3 separate regions of the Homo sapiens genome follow, and regions 1 and 3 are each linked to region 2. The links are contacts of gene promoters, found by promoter capture Hi-C in human tissues and cell types (Jung and others, 2019). All regions are on one chromosome and are shown on one strand. The core of a region is centred on a gene start or on the middle of the fragment in contact, and the rest is flanking DNA. Distances in the headings are between cores, read along the strand shown.

Region 1 (3,975 bases), core at 1,460-3,959, 56 kb after region 2:
GCATGTGTGTTTAAACAATATGAACTCTGGGCACTTTGAAAAAAGAACAAGATAACAGCAATGTTTAGGAAACAAGAGAGATAACCTTAAACTCTGACCGCCGGTGAGCTGGGCAGAACAGAGCCATATTTCTCTTCTTTCAAAAGCAAATGGGAGAAATATCGCTGAATTCTTTTTCTCAGCATGAAACATCCCTGAGAAAGAGAATGTGCACCTGCAGGTAGGTCTCTGAACTGGGCCCCCTGGGCGTAGCCTGTCTCTTATGGTCGAGGCTGCAGAGATGAAATAGACTCCAGTCTCCCATAGCGCTCCCAGGCTTATTAGGAAGAGGAAATTCCTGCCCAATAAATTTTGGTCAGACTGGTTGATCTCAAAACCCTGTCTCCTGATAAGATGTTATCAATGACCATGGTGCCTGAAACTTCATTAGCAATTTTAATTTCACCTCAGTCCTGTGGTCCTGTGATCTCGCCCCGCCTCCACTTGCTTTGTGATATTCTATTACCCTGTTAAGTACTTGATGTCTGTCACCCACATCTATTCGCACACTCCCTCCCCTTTTGAAAATCTCTAATAAAAACTTGCTGGTTTTCGTGGCTTGTGGGGCATCACGGATCCTACCAACGTGTGATGTCTCCCCCGGATGCCCAGCTTTAAAATTTCTCTCTTTTGTACTCTGTCCCTTTATTTCTCAAGCCAGCCGACGCTTAGGAAAAATAGAAAAGAACCTACGTGATTATCGGGGCAGGTCCCCCGATGACTCTGATGATAGTTTCTTTTGCTGTGCAGAAGCTCTTTAGTTTAATTAGATCCCATGTGTCAATTTTGGCTTTTATTGCCATTGCTTTTGTTGTTTTAGATATGAAGTCTTTGTATATGCCTATGTCCTGAATGGTATTGCCCAGGTTTTCTTCTAGGATTTTTATGGTCCTAGGTCTTACGTTTAAGAATATGAGCTATCTTGAGTTGATTTTTGTATAAGGTATAAGGAAGGGGTCCAGTTTCAGTTTTCTGCATATGGCTAGCCAGTTTTCCCAACACCATTTATTATATAGGGAATCTTTTCCCCATTGCTTGTTTGTGTCAGGTTTCTCAAAGATCAGATGGTTGTAGATGTGTGATTTTATTTCCAAGGCCTCTGTTCTGTTCCATTGGTCTATATATCTGTTTTGGTACCAGTACCATGCTGTTTTGGTTACTGTAGCCTTGTAGTATAGTTTGAAGTCAGGTAGCATGATGCCTCCAGCTTTGTTCTTCTTGCCCAGGATTTTCTTGGCTATGCGGGCTCTTTTTTGGTTCCATATGAAGTTTAAGTAGTTTTTTCCAATTCTGTGAAGAAAGTCAATGGTAGCTTGATGAGGATAACATTGAATCTACAAATTACTTTGGGCAGTATGGCCATTTTCACGATATTGATTCTTCCTATCCATGAGCATGGAATGTTTTTCCATTTGTTTGTGTCCTCTCTGATTTCCTTGAGCAGTGGTTTGTAGTTCTCCTTGAAGAGGTCCTTCATGTCCCTTGTAAATTGTATTCCTAGGTATTTTATTCTCTTTGTAGCAATTGTGAATGGGAGTTCACTCATGATTTGGCTCTCTGTTTTTCTGTTATTGGTGTGTAAGAATGCTTGTAATTTTTCCACATTGATTTTGTATCCCGAGACTTTGCTGAAGTTGCTTATCAGCTTAAGGAGATTTTGGGATGAGATGATGGGGTTTTTTAAACATACAATCATGCCCTCTGCAAACAGAGACAATTTGACTTCCTCTCTTCCTATTTGAATACCTTTATTTCTTTCTATTCCCTGACTGCCCTGGTCAGAACTTCCAACACTATGTTGAATAGGAGTGGTGAGAGAGGGCATCCTTGTCTTGTGCCAGTTTTCAAAGGGAATGCTTCCAGTTTTTGCCCATTCAGTATGATATTGGCTATGGGTTTGTCATAAATAGCTCTTATTATTTTGAGATATGTTCCATCGATACCTACTTTATTGAGAGTTTTTATCATGAAGGGGTGTTGAATTTTGTCTAAGGCCTTTTCTGCATCTATTGAGATAATCATGTGGTTTTGTCATTGGTTCTGTTTATGTGATGGATTACGTTTATTGATTTGCATATGTTGAACAAGCCTTGCATCCCAGGGATGAAGCCGACTTGATTGTGTTGGATAAGCTTTTTGATGTGCTACTGAATTTGGCTTGCCAGTATTTTATTGAGGATATTCACATCGATGTTCTTCAAGGATATTAGCCTGAAATTTTCTTTTTTTGTTGTGTCTCTGCCAGGTTTTGGAATCAGGATGATGTTGGCCTCATAAAATGAGTTAGGGAGGATTCCCTCTTTTTCTATTGATTGGAATAGTTTCAGAAGGAATGATATCAGCTCTTCTTTGTACCCCTGGTAGAATTCAGCTGTGAATCCGTCTGGTCCTGAACTTTTTTTGGTTGGTAGGCTATTAATTACTGCCTCAATTTCAGAACTTGTTATTGGTTTATTCAGGGATTCGATTTCTTCCTGGTTTACACTTGGAAGGGTGTATGTTTCCAGGAATTTATCCATTTCTTGTAGATTTTCTAGCTTATTTGTGTAGAAGTGTTTATAGTATTCTCTGATGGTAGTTTGTATTTCTGTGTGATCAGTGGTGATATCCCCTATATCATTTTTTATTGCATCTATTTGATTCTTCTCTCTTTTCTTCTTTATTAGTCTGGCTAGTGGTCTATCTCTTTTGTTGATCTTTTCAAAAAACCAGCTCCTGGATTCATTAATTTTTTTTGAAGGGTTTTTCGTGTCTCTATCTCTTTCAGTTCTGCTCTGATCTTAGTTATTTCTTGTCTTCTGCTAGATTTTGAATTTGTTTGCTCTTGCTTCTCTAGTTCTTTTAATTGTGATGTTAGGGTGTCCATTTTAGATGTTTCCTGCTTTCTCTTGTGGGCATTTAGTGCCGTAAATTTCCCTCTACACACTGCTTTAAATGTGTCCCACAGATTCTGGTTCGTTGTGTCTTCGTTCTCATTGGTTTCAAAGAACATCTTTATTTCTGCCTTAATTTTGTTATTTACCCAGTAGTCATTCAGGAGCAGGTTGTTCAGTTTCCATGTAGTTGTGCTGTTTTGAGTGAGTTTCTTAATCCTGAGTTCTAATTTGATTGCACTGTGATCTGAGAGACTGTTTGTTATGATTTCTGTTCTTTTGCATTTGCTGAGGAGTATTTTACTTCCAATTATGTGGTCAGTTTTAGAATAAGTGCGATGAGGTGCTGAGAAGAATGTATATTCTGTTGATTTGAGGTGGAGAGTTCTGTGGATGTCTATTAGGTCCATTTGGTCCAGAGCTGAGTTCAAGTCCAGAATATCCTTGTTAATTTTCTGTCTTGTTGATCTGTCTAATATTGACAGTGGGGTGTTAAAGTCTCCCACTGTAATTGTGTGGGAGCGTAAGTCTCTTTGTAGGTCTCTAAGAACTTGCTTTTTGAATATGGGTGCTCCTGTATTGGGTGCATATACATTTATGATAGTTAGCTCTTCTTGCTGCATTGATCCCTTTAGCATTATGTAATTCTGTTCTTTGTCTTTTTGATCTTTTTTGGTTTAAAGTCTCTTTTATCAGAAATTAGGATTGCAACTAATGTTTTTGTTTTTTGTTTTGTTTTGTTTTGTTTTGCTTTCCATTTGCTTGGTAAATATTCCTCCATCCCTTTATTTTGAGTCTATGTGTGTCTTTGCATGTGAGATGGGTCTCCTGAATACAGCACACCGATAGGTCTTGACTCTTTATCCAGTTTGCCAGTCAGTGTCTTTTAATTGGGGCATTTAGCCCATTTACATTTAAGGTTAATATTATTATGTGTGAATTTGATACTGTCGTTATGATGCTAGCTGGTTGTTTTGCCAGTTAGTTGATGCAGTTTCTTCATAGTGTCAATGTTCTTTACAATTTGGTATGTTTTTGCAGTGTCTGGTACTGGTTTTTTCTT
Region 2 (3,881 bases), core at 938-3,437:
TGATATTTAGATGAGACTTTGGACTTCAGACTTTAAGAGTTGATGCTGGAAAGAGTGACGACTTTGGGGACTGTTGGAATGGAATGAATGCATTTTGCATGTGAGAAAACATAAATTTGGGGCGAACCAGAGGGGTTAAAACTCTCTCCTTAATTAAACTTTAGACAGGCTCTTCTAAGCCCTCTTTTTGACCTCATCCTTGCTAAGTCTAGTTTTAGCAGGAGTTTAGCTTAAGTCACTTTAGTGAGAATCCCCTGCTCTTGATATCCAATCACCTTCAATATCTGATCACACTCTTCTTCCCCACCCTTGATATCTGATCACCCCAGCCTACCTTTAGCAAGAATCTTGTTAAGTTGGTTTAACAAGAATTCATCTACCCTTGATGTATCTTCTTAGTAATTTTTCATCCACTGACCACTTTGCTCTGCTCCTTGGCTATAAATCCTCTTGCATTTACTGCATTTAGAATTGAGCCCAGACCAGGTGCAGTGGCTCACAGCCGGGCGTGGTGGCGGGAGCCTGTAATCCCAGCTATTCAGGAGGCTGAGGCAGGAGAATCACTTGAACCCAGGAGGCGGAGATTGCGGAGGTTGCAGTGAGCCTAGATCGTGCCACTGCACTCTAACCTGGGTGACAGAGTGAGACTCTGCCTTAAAAAAGAATTGAGCCCAGTTCTATCCTGAGGTCTTTTTGCCCCATTGCCATAGTTCCTGAATAATATCTGTTTTACCTCTTTTATTACTGTCCAGCTCTGGTTCTGTTAGGCAAATGCTATAGACTGAATTTTGTCCCCCTACCCAATAAAATTCATATGTTGAACTCCTAACCCCCAATTTCACTACTCTTTCACTACTGTCCAGCTCTGGTTCTGTTTAGCAAATGCTATAGACTGAATTTTGTCCCCCTACCCACTAAAACTCATATGTTGATGCCCTAACCCCCAATTTGACTGTATCTGGAGATAGGGTCTTTAGGAGGTAATTAAGGTTAAATGAGGTCATAAGGGTGGGTCCCAAATAGGATAGGATGTGTCCTTGTCAAAAGAGATCTCTCCAAGCCCTGCTGCCATGTGAGGACACAGTGAGAAGGCAGACATCTGAAAGCCAGGAAGTGAGCCCTCACCAGAAACCAACCCTGCTGGAAACTTGATCTTGGACTTCTAGCCTCCAGAACTGTGAGAAAATAAATGTCTATTGTTTCAGCCACCCAGTCTATGGTGTTTTGTTACGGCAGCCCGAGGTGAGTGAGACAGCACCTCTGTGTATCTGAGGCTGAGGTGTATGCTTGTGTGCAATCACATGCATTATTTCCAGAGTCGAGGTGCTAGAGGAAGTTGGTGTGGACTAGAGAAGCAGGCCTGAAGACACAGAGCCTGTGTGGCATGGTTATTAGGACTTTTGGTGAGTAAGGCAGAGTTGAGACCAACGGTGGGAGAAAGAGACTGCCACAGGCCTCTGCTTCTGCTGGGCTTTGTCTTGTTCTCTCTTTAGATTTCTTTCTCATTGGCAATGTGTGTAGCTTCCAAAGTGAGGTGTAGGCTGTGGACTTAGTCTATTGATTGTACCACAGCCCAACAAATAAATGATACTGTATATTGTTAACTCCTTTTTCCCATCTCTATCTACTCAGGAAGGCTTAGTGTAGCTGTTTGGGTAGAGAGACAAAAACTGGATTCTTCCACAATAAGCTTCTTGACCAGCAGGTGAAGAAATAATCCTTGCAAGAGCCCAGATCCAGCTTCTTGTGAGACAATGGCTGAGAAGAAATGATAGACGGGCCTGCAGAGGCCTACACGTCTGATTTTCATCAGTCCCTTTAGGATGTGCTATGGTTTAAATGTGTCCTCCAAAAGTTCATGTGTTGGAAACTTAATTACCATTGTAACAGTATTAAGAGGTAGGGCCAGAGGAGGAAAGGCTGAAGGCGTGAAAAGGCACGCAGGCGCACTGCACGGACCGCCCCCCTGCTGCTGCGCACCTCACGTGGCGCATGTTACGCCAGGTACCACACGCCACGTACTGCACACCACGTACCACACGCCACGTACCACACACCACGTACCACACGCCACACACATTATGCCACGCACGTTACGCCACGCACGTTACGCCACGCACGTTACGCCACGCACGTTACGCCACGCACGTTACGCCACGCACGTTACGCCACGCACGTTACGCCACGCACCTCACGGCAGCCCTACACTCGGCCTGGAAGAATTGTTTTTCTTCTCTGGAAAGGTGAACATTTATAGCATTTATTTCCCAAATCTGTTAACATGGCAAAATATGTCAGTCTCACTGAAGCTAACGAAGAACTCAAGGTCTTAATGGACGAGAACCAGACCAGCCGCCCCGTGGCCGTTCACACCTCCACCGTGAACCCGCTCGGGAAGCAGCTCTTGCCGAAAACCTTTGGACAGTCCAGTGTCAACATTGACCAGCAAGTGGTAATTGGTATGCCTCAGAGACCAGCAGCATCAAACATCCCTGTGGTAGGAAGCCCAAACCCACCCAGCACTCACTTTGCCTCTCAGAACCAGCATTCCTACTCCTCACCTCCTTGGGCCGGGCAGCACAACAGGAAAGGAGAGAAGAATGGCATGGGCCTGTGCCGTCTTTCCATGAAGGTCTGGGAGACGGTGCAGAGGAAAGGGACCACTTCCTGCCAGGAAGTGGTGGGCGAGCTGGTCGCCAAGTTCAGAGCTGCCAGCAACCACGCCTCACCAAACGAGTCAGCTTATGACGTGAAAAACATAAAACGGCGCACCTACGATGCCTTAAACGTGCTGATGGCCATGAATATCATCTCCAGGGAGAAAAAGAAGATCAAGTGGATTGGTCTGACCACCAACTCGGCTCAGAACTGTCAGAACTTACGGGTGGAAAGACAGAAGAGACTTGAAAGAATAAAGCAGAAACAGTCTGAACTTCAACAACTTATTCTACAGCAAATTGCTTTCAAGAACCTGGTGCTGAGAAACCAGTATGTGGAGGAGCAGGTCAGCCAGCGGCCGCTGCCCAACTCAGTCATCCACGTGCCCTTCATCATCATCAGCAGTAGCAAGAAGACCGTCATCAACTGCAGCATCTCCGACGACAAATCAGAATATCTGTTTAAGTTTAACAGCTCCTTTGAAATCCACGATGACACAGAAGTGCTGATGTGGATGGGCATGACTTTTGGGCTAGAGTCCGGGAGCTGCTCTGCCGAAGACCTTAAAATGGCCAGAAATTTGGTCCCAAAGGCTCTGGAGCCGTACGTGACAGAAATGGCTCAGGGAACTTTTGGAGGTGTGTTCACGACGGCAGGTTCCAGGTCTAATGGCACGTGGCTTTCTGCCAGTGACCTGACCAACATTGCGATTGGGATGCTGGCCACAAGCTCCGGTGGATCTCAGTACAGTGGCTCCAGGGTGGAGACCCCAGCAGTCGAGGAGGAAGAGGAGGAGGACAACAACGATGACGACCTCAGTGAGAATGACGAGGATGACTGACGTCCTCTCGCCTTAAGATTCAGCTTCAGGAAAACATTTAGGGAAAAGAAACTTTTTTTTTTTTTTTAATGTGAGGTTTTCTGTTTCTTTTTTGCCTACTCCCAAGAAGATATTGGTAAGCTATAGAATTTAGATATGCACCTCTGATAAGCAAGGATTGTTTCCCGTATGATTAAGACGTGCTGTTGATGTGTGTTTTGATACCAGTGTGCTGACACAGAATCTTTATTTACTTTTTAGGATTTTGTGTTTTCATTTTCTATTTTTCTTTAAATGCAGAGTTCATTGTTGCCCCTTAACAGTTTTTCCTGAGTTTACTGAAGAAATTGTACTTCATCCACATCCATGAAAATAAAATGCTCTCCTTTTGTGCACAGTGAGT
Region 3 (3,870 bases), core at 856-3,355, 36 kb after region 2:
GAAAGTTATGTGCATGTTTCAACATGTTAGTTGCTGCAGCTTTTGGAATGTTTTCCCGTTGGTTATATAAATTGATTCAAATCCCATCCATTCTGTTCAGTGAGTTGTTTCTTAGTGTGTGAGTCCCTAATTTATCTGACGATAGAACTTACCTCATTCATTCTTCAAATCCATTAACCTCCAAAAGTAGAGACAGGAATTGGAATTGGAAGGCAAAATTAATATTGCTTTGATAGAAATTTAACACTTTAATTATCTGAGGTAGTTGGGCAATGAGGAATTCAAGTTATCTAATGAGGGGTTGATAGTTCCTCTTTATGCAACGAAGCAGCTTTGTAGGAAAAGTTTTCTTGCATAGGGGTGGAGTCCAGGATCTCAGGATCATCACTCTCCACTGTCCTGCAGCATCTTTCTAAGCCCAGATGTTTTTAAAATTTTTTTTTGAGAAAGGGTCTCACTCACTGTAACCTCAAAATCCTGGGCTCAAGTAATCCTCCTGCGCTCAGCCTCCCAAGTGGCTAGACCTACAGGTACATACCACCACACCTGGCTAATTTTAAAAAAAATTGTTTAAGAGACAGGGTTTCACTATGTTGCCTAGGCTGGTCTTGAACTCCTGGCCTCAAGTGATCCTCCTGCCTCAGCCTCCCAAAGTGCTGGGATTACAAGCATGAGCCACTACACCTGGCCCAAATTCCAGGTTTTCAATCTCGTAGCTAGACCAGGGCTTAGCAAACTGTGGCCCATGTATCAAATCTGGCTCACCACCTCTGTTTGTATACCTGTTTTAGTAGCTAACATGGTTTTTCCACTTTTAAATGTTTGAAAAGAGGACTATTTTGTTAAACATGACAGTTATGTAAAATTAAAATGTCAGTGGCCATAAAATTTTATCAGAACACAGCCACAGTTATTCATTTACATATTGTCTATGACTACTCTTGTACTCCAACAGTAGAGTTGATTAATTGTGAAGGGACCTGTATGTCCCACAAACCTAAACATTGACTAGCTGGCTTTTTACAGAAAAACTTTGCCAGCCCCTAAGCTAGATTGTCAGTCGTAGTGTTACAGACTTGGGAAGAATTTCATGAGGACCCAAAGTCCTAGCTGCCTCTGGCCTAGCAGAATAAGCCCAGAGGGGATCTAGCAACCCCCTACCCCTACCCAGCACAGATTCCAAACCTCAAAACAAGTTAGAAGGCAGAAAGCAGGGCCAGGCATGGTGGCTCATGCCTGTAACCCCTGCATTTTGGAGGCCGAGGCAGGTGGATCACTTGCGGTCAGGAGTTCGAGACCAGCCTGGGCAACATAGTGAAACCCCGTCTCTACTAAAAATACAAAAGTTAGCTGGGTGTGGTGGCAGGTGCATGTAATCCCAGCTACTCTGGAGGCTGAGGCAGGAGATTTGCTTGATCCCGGGAGGCAGAGGTTGCAGTGAGCTGAGATTGCACCATTGCACTCCAGCCTGGGTGACAGAGCAAGACTCTGTCTCAAAAAAAAAAAAAAGGCGGAAAGCACTAAAATGATTCATATTCCCAGGGTGGCCAGTTGTTTTGCAATGTTCTGGTTTGAGGCTCAGAACAGGGGAAGAACCTCTGACCTGTGGAGCCCACCTCTGCCTTTGCTCCTAGGGACAGAAGAACTTGAGAGGTCCATAGTGTTCTACATGTAAACTTATGAACACAAGTGAGACAGCCTCAAAGAACAGATCGGAGTTATTCTGACAGCTTTCATGGCCAAAGGACTTCCAGATGGAGTTTGTCAATTTGCTGATATTTTTCACCTTCTAAAGAACACGTCTAAACCCCAAGTCATCCCTTCACCTGTGTGCAGGTATAAAACCCTCATCCTTTCATGAAAAAAATAATTTTATTTCAGAACTTAATGTTGAGATTTAGAAAAAAGGCAGAAAAACTACTTCTAAGAGCCAAAAAACGCAATGTATTTCAAAAGGTGGTGACAACTTCCTCTGAAGTCCAGAGTTCAGGGAAACAGGAGGTGATGGTAACTCGCACACCCAGCACCTGCTCATCACACGACTCCCTTTCTGTCTCCTCCTTTCCTTGCTGTCTGTCTTGGCTGTTCTCTCTGGTTCTCCTTCCAGATTGATTTTATCCCCTCTGCTGTCTCCTACCCCATGTGTCCGTAATATGAAATGTAAGAAAGCTTTTTATCACTTGTAACTAGAATTTATGGTTTCAACTCTTAATTTTAAAAGCAGTTATGTGAAATCATTTCTGTTTCTCAAACAAAATTGCTTTTTACACTTTGGTCTGCTATGGTAACAGTACTAACAGCTACCATTAATTGAGCACTTACTAAGTGCTGGACACTCTATTAGGCACTTAGAATGTTATAAGACACTTAATACTCACAAGTGTCCTATGCACTATCACATCTCTCTCATTTCAAAGGTGAGGAAATGGAGGCACAGACACTAAATGTATTGTCCAAAGTCCTCTGGTTTATAACTAGCAAAGAGGTCAAAACTCAGGCAGTTTTGTTCCTGGGCCCACATCCTCAACCACAAAACTTAACTAATGGCCTTCTGTTGTTAAATGTCCCTTAGCTTAGAGAAGGCACAAAAGCTCCCCTATTTATCATTTCAGGTTCTCCTGGAGAATTTTATTCTTTGGGTGTGTGGCTCTCCAATGGATATAACAGCCTACTTTTATTTTCCCAGAAGTATTAATAGAGATGGAGAGGAAGGCCTGGAATCCTCACACTTCCTGTTCACTCTAACTCAAAGATGGTTGATTTTCTCCTGTTTCTGCCTCTCCATGGAACACATTCACTGCAAACAAAACCCTCTCCTTTCCTTACCTTTTCAATTTCACAGGGCATGAAAGAGGTGGGGTTCATCATTCTCTTCTGCCATATCCAGGCTATTATTCCATGGCCATTGCTCACCAACCCCCTTGATTTTGAAGCCTGATAATGAAAATGACCAAAGGGAATACTTGGAGGGGATAACCATTAGTCCAGATTCATGAATTTCTTACAGTGGAAACATCAGTATTGTGTGGTCTGGGGGCTATAGGCTCTGGGCCCCTGAAAGATTCTCAAAAAATCACTGAAATGGGGTGGATTGGTTAATAGGAGAAAAAGTATACAAATTTATTTAACATGCATATATGGAAGCCCTCAGGATGAAGACCCAACTTCTCAATGAGTCACAGAAACTTATATACCATTTTGAGGTTACAGAAAGAGTTGGGGCTTCGATTCTGGTAAAAACAAGTTATAGGAGAGAGAGAAGAGGCTTGGCTAGCAAAGGTAGCCTTGTTATGTAGATGAAGCCTCTCTTGAGAGCATAAATGGTAAATATTTCTGTATTAGTCTGTTCTCGCACTGCTATAAAGAAATACCTGAGACGGGGTAATTTACAAAGGAAAGAGATTTAGTTGGCTCACCGTTCTATAGGCTGTTCAGGAGGCATAGCAGCTTCTGCTTCTGGGGAGGCCTCAGGGAACTTCCAATCATGGTGGAGGGCAAAGGGTGAGTGAAGTATCTCCCAGGGCAAGAGCAGAAGCAAGAGAGCAAGGCTGGGGGGGTGCTACATACTTTTAAACCACCACGTCTCAGGATAACTTGCTCATTCGCTATCATGAAGGCAGTACCGGGTGATAGTGCTAAACCATTCATGAGAAATCCGCCCCCAAGATCCATTCACCTCCCACCAGGTCTCACCCCCAACACTGGGGAATACTATTTGACATGAGATTGGTGGGGACACAGATCCAAACCGTATCCGTTTCTTTTCAGACTTTTAAAGGGGTCAGACCTTCAATTTCTCCCTGGATCTGGGGCAAGGCATAGAGAGGGGAGGGGGCATGGCTGTATTAATGGGGATTCTCTACAGATACA

What was found. Contacts are between HindIII fragments. The study calls those that stand out against the background at their distance.
Region 1: a fragment that was not itself captured here is called in contact with the fragment with the promoter of TFDP3 in region 2 in 1 of the 25 tissues and cell types used here (stomach).
Region 3: a contact is called between a fragment that was not itself captured here and the fragment with the promoter of TFDP3 in region 2, in 1 of the 25 tissues and cell types used here (stomach).

The regions. Positions count from the first base shown.
Region 1 is chrX:133,161,344-133,165,318 of GRCh38, reverse strand. No RefSeq gene overlaps it. Among named protein-coding and RNA genes, the nearest start is that of TFDP3, 55 kb to the left of the region's middle. The HindIII fragment of the contact is 5,152 bases long and covers 134-3,975 here.
Region 2 is chrX:133,216,660-133,220,540 of GRCh38, reverse strand. It overlaps TFDP3 (transcription factor Dp family member 3), which reads left to right and starts at 2,187. Exons shown (of 1, transcript NM_016521.3): 1 at 2,187-3,879. The coding sequence starts at 2,282. The coding sequence ends at 3,499. The HindIII fragment of the contact is 22,207 bases long and covers 1-3,881 here.
Region 3 is chrX:133,180,171-133,184,040 of GRCh38, reverse strand. No RefSeq gene overlaps it. Among named protein-coding and RNA genes, the nearest start is that of TFDP3, 36 kb to the left of the region's middle. The HindIII fragment of the contact is 6,638 bases long and covers 1-3,870 here.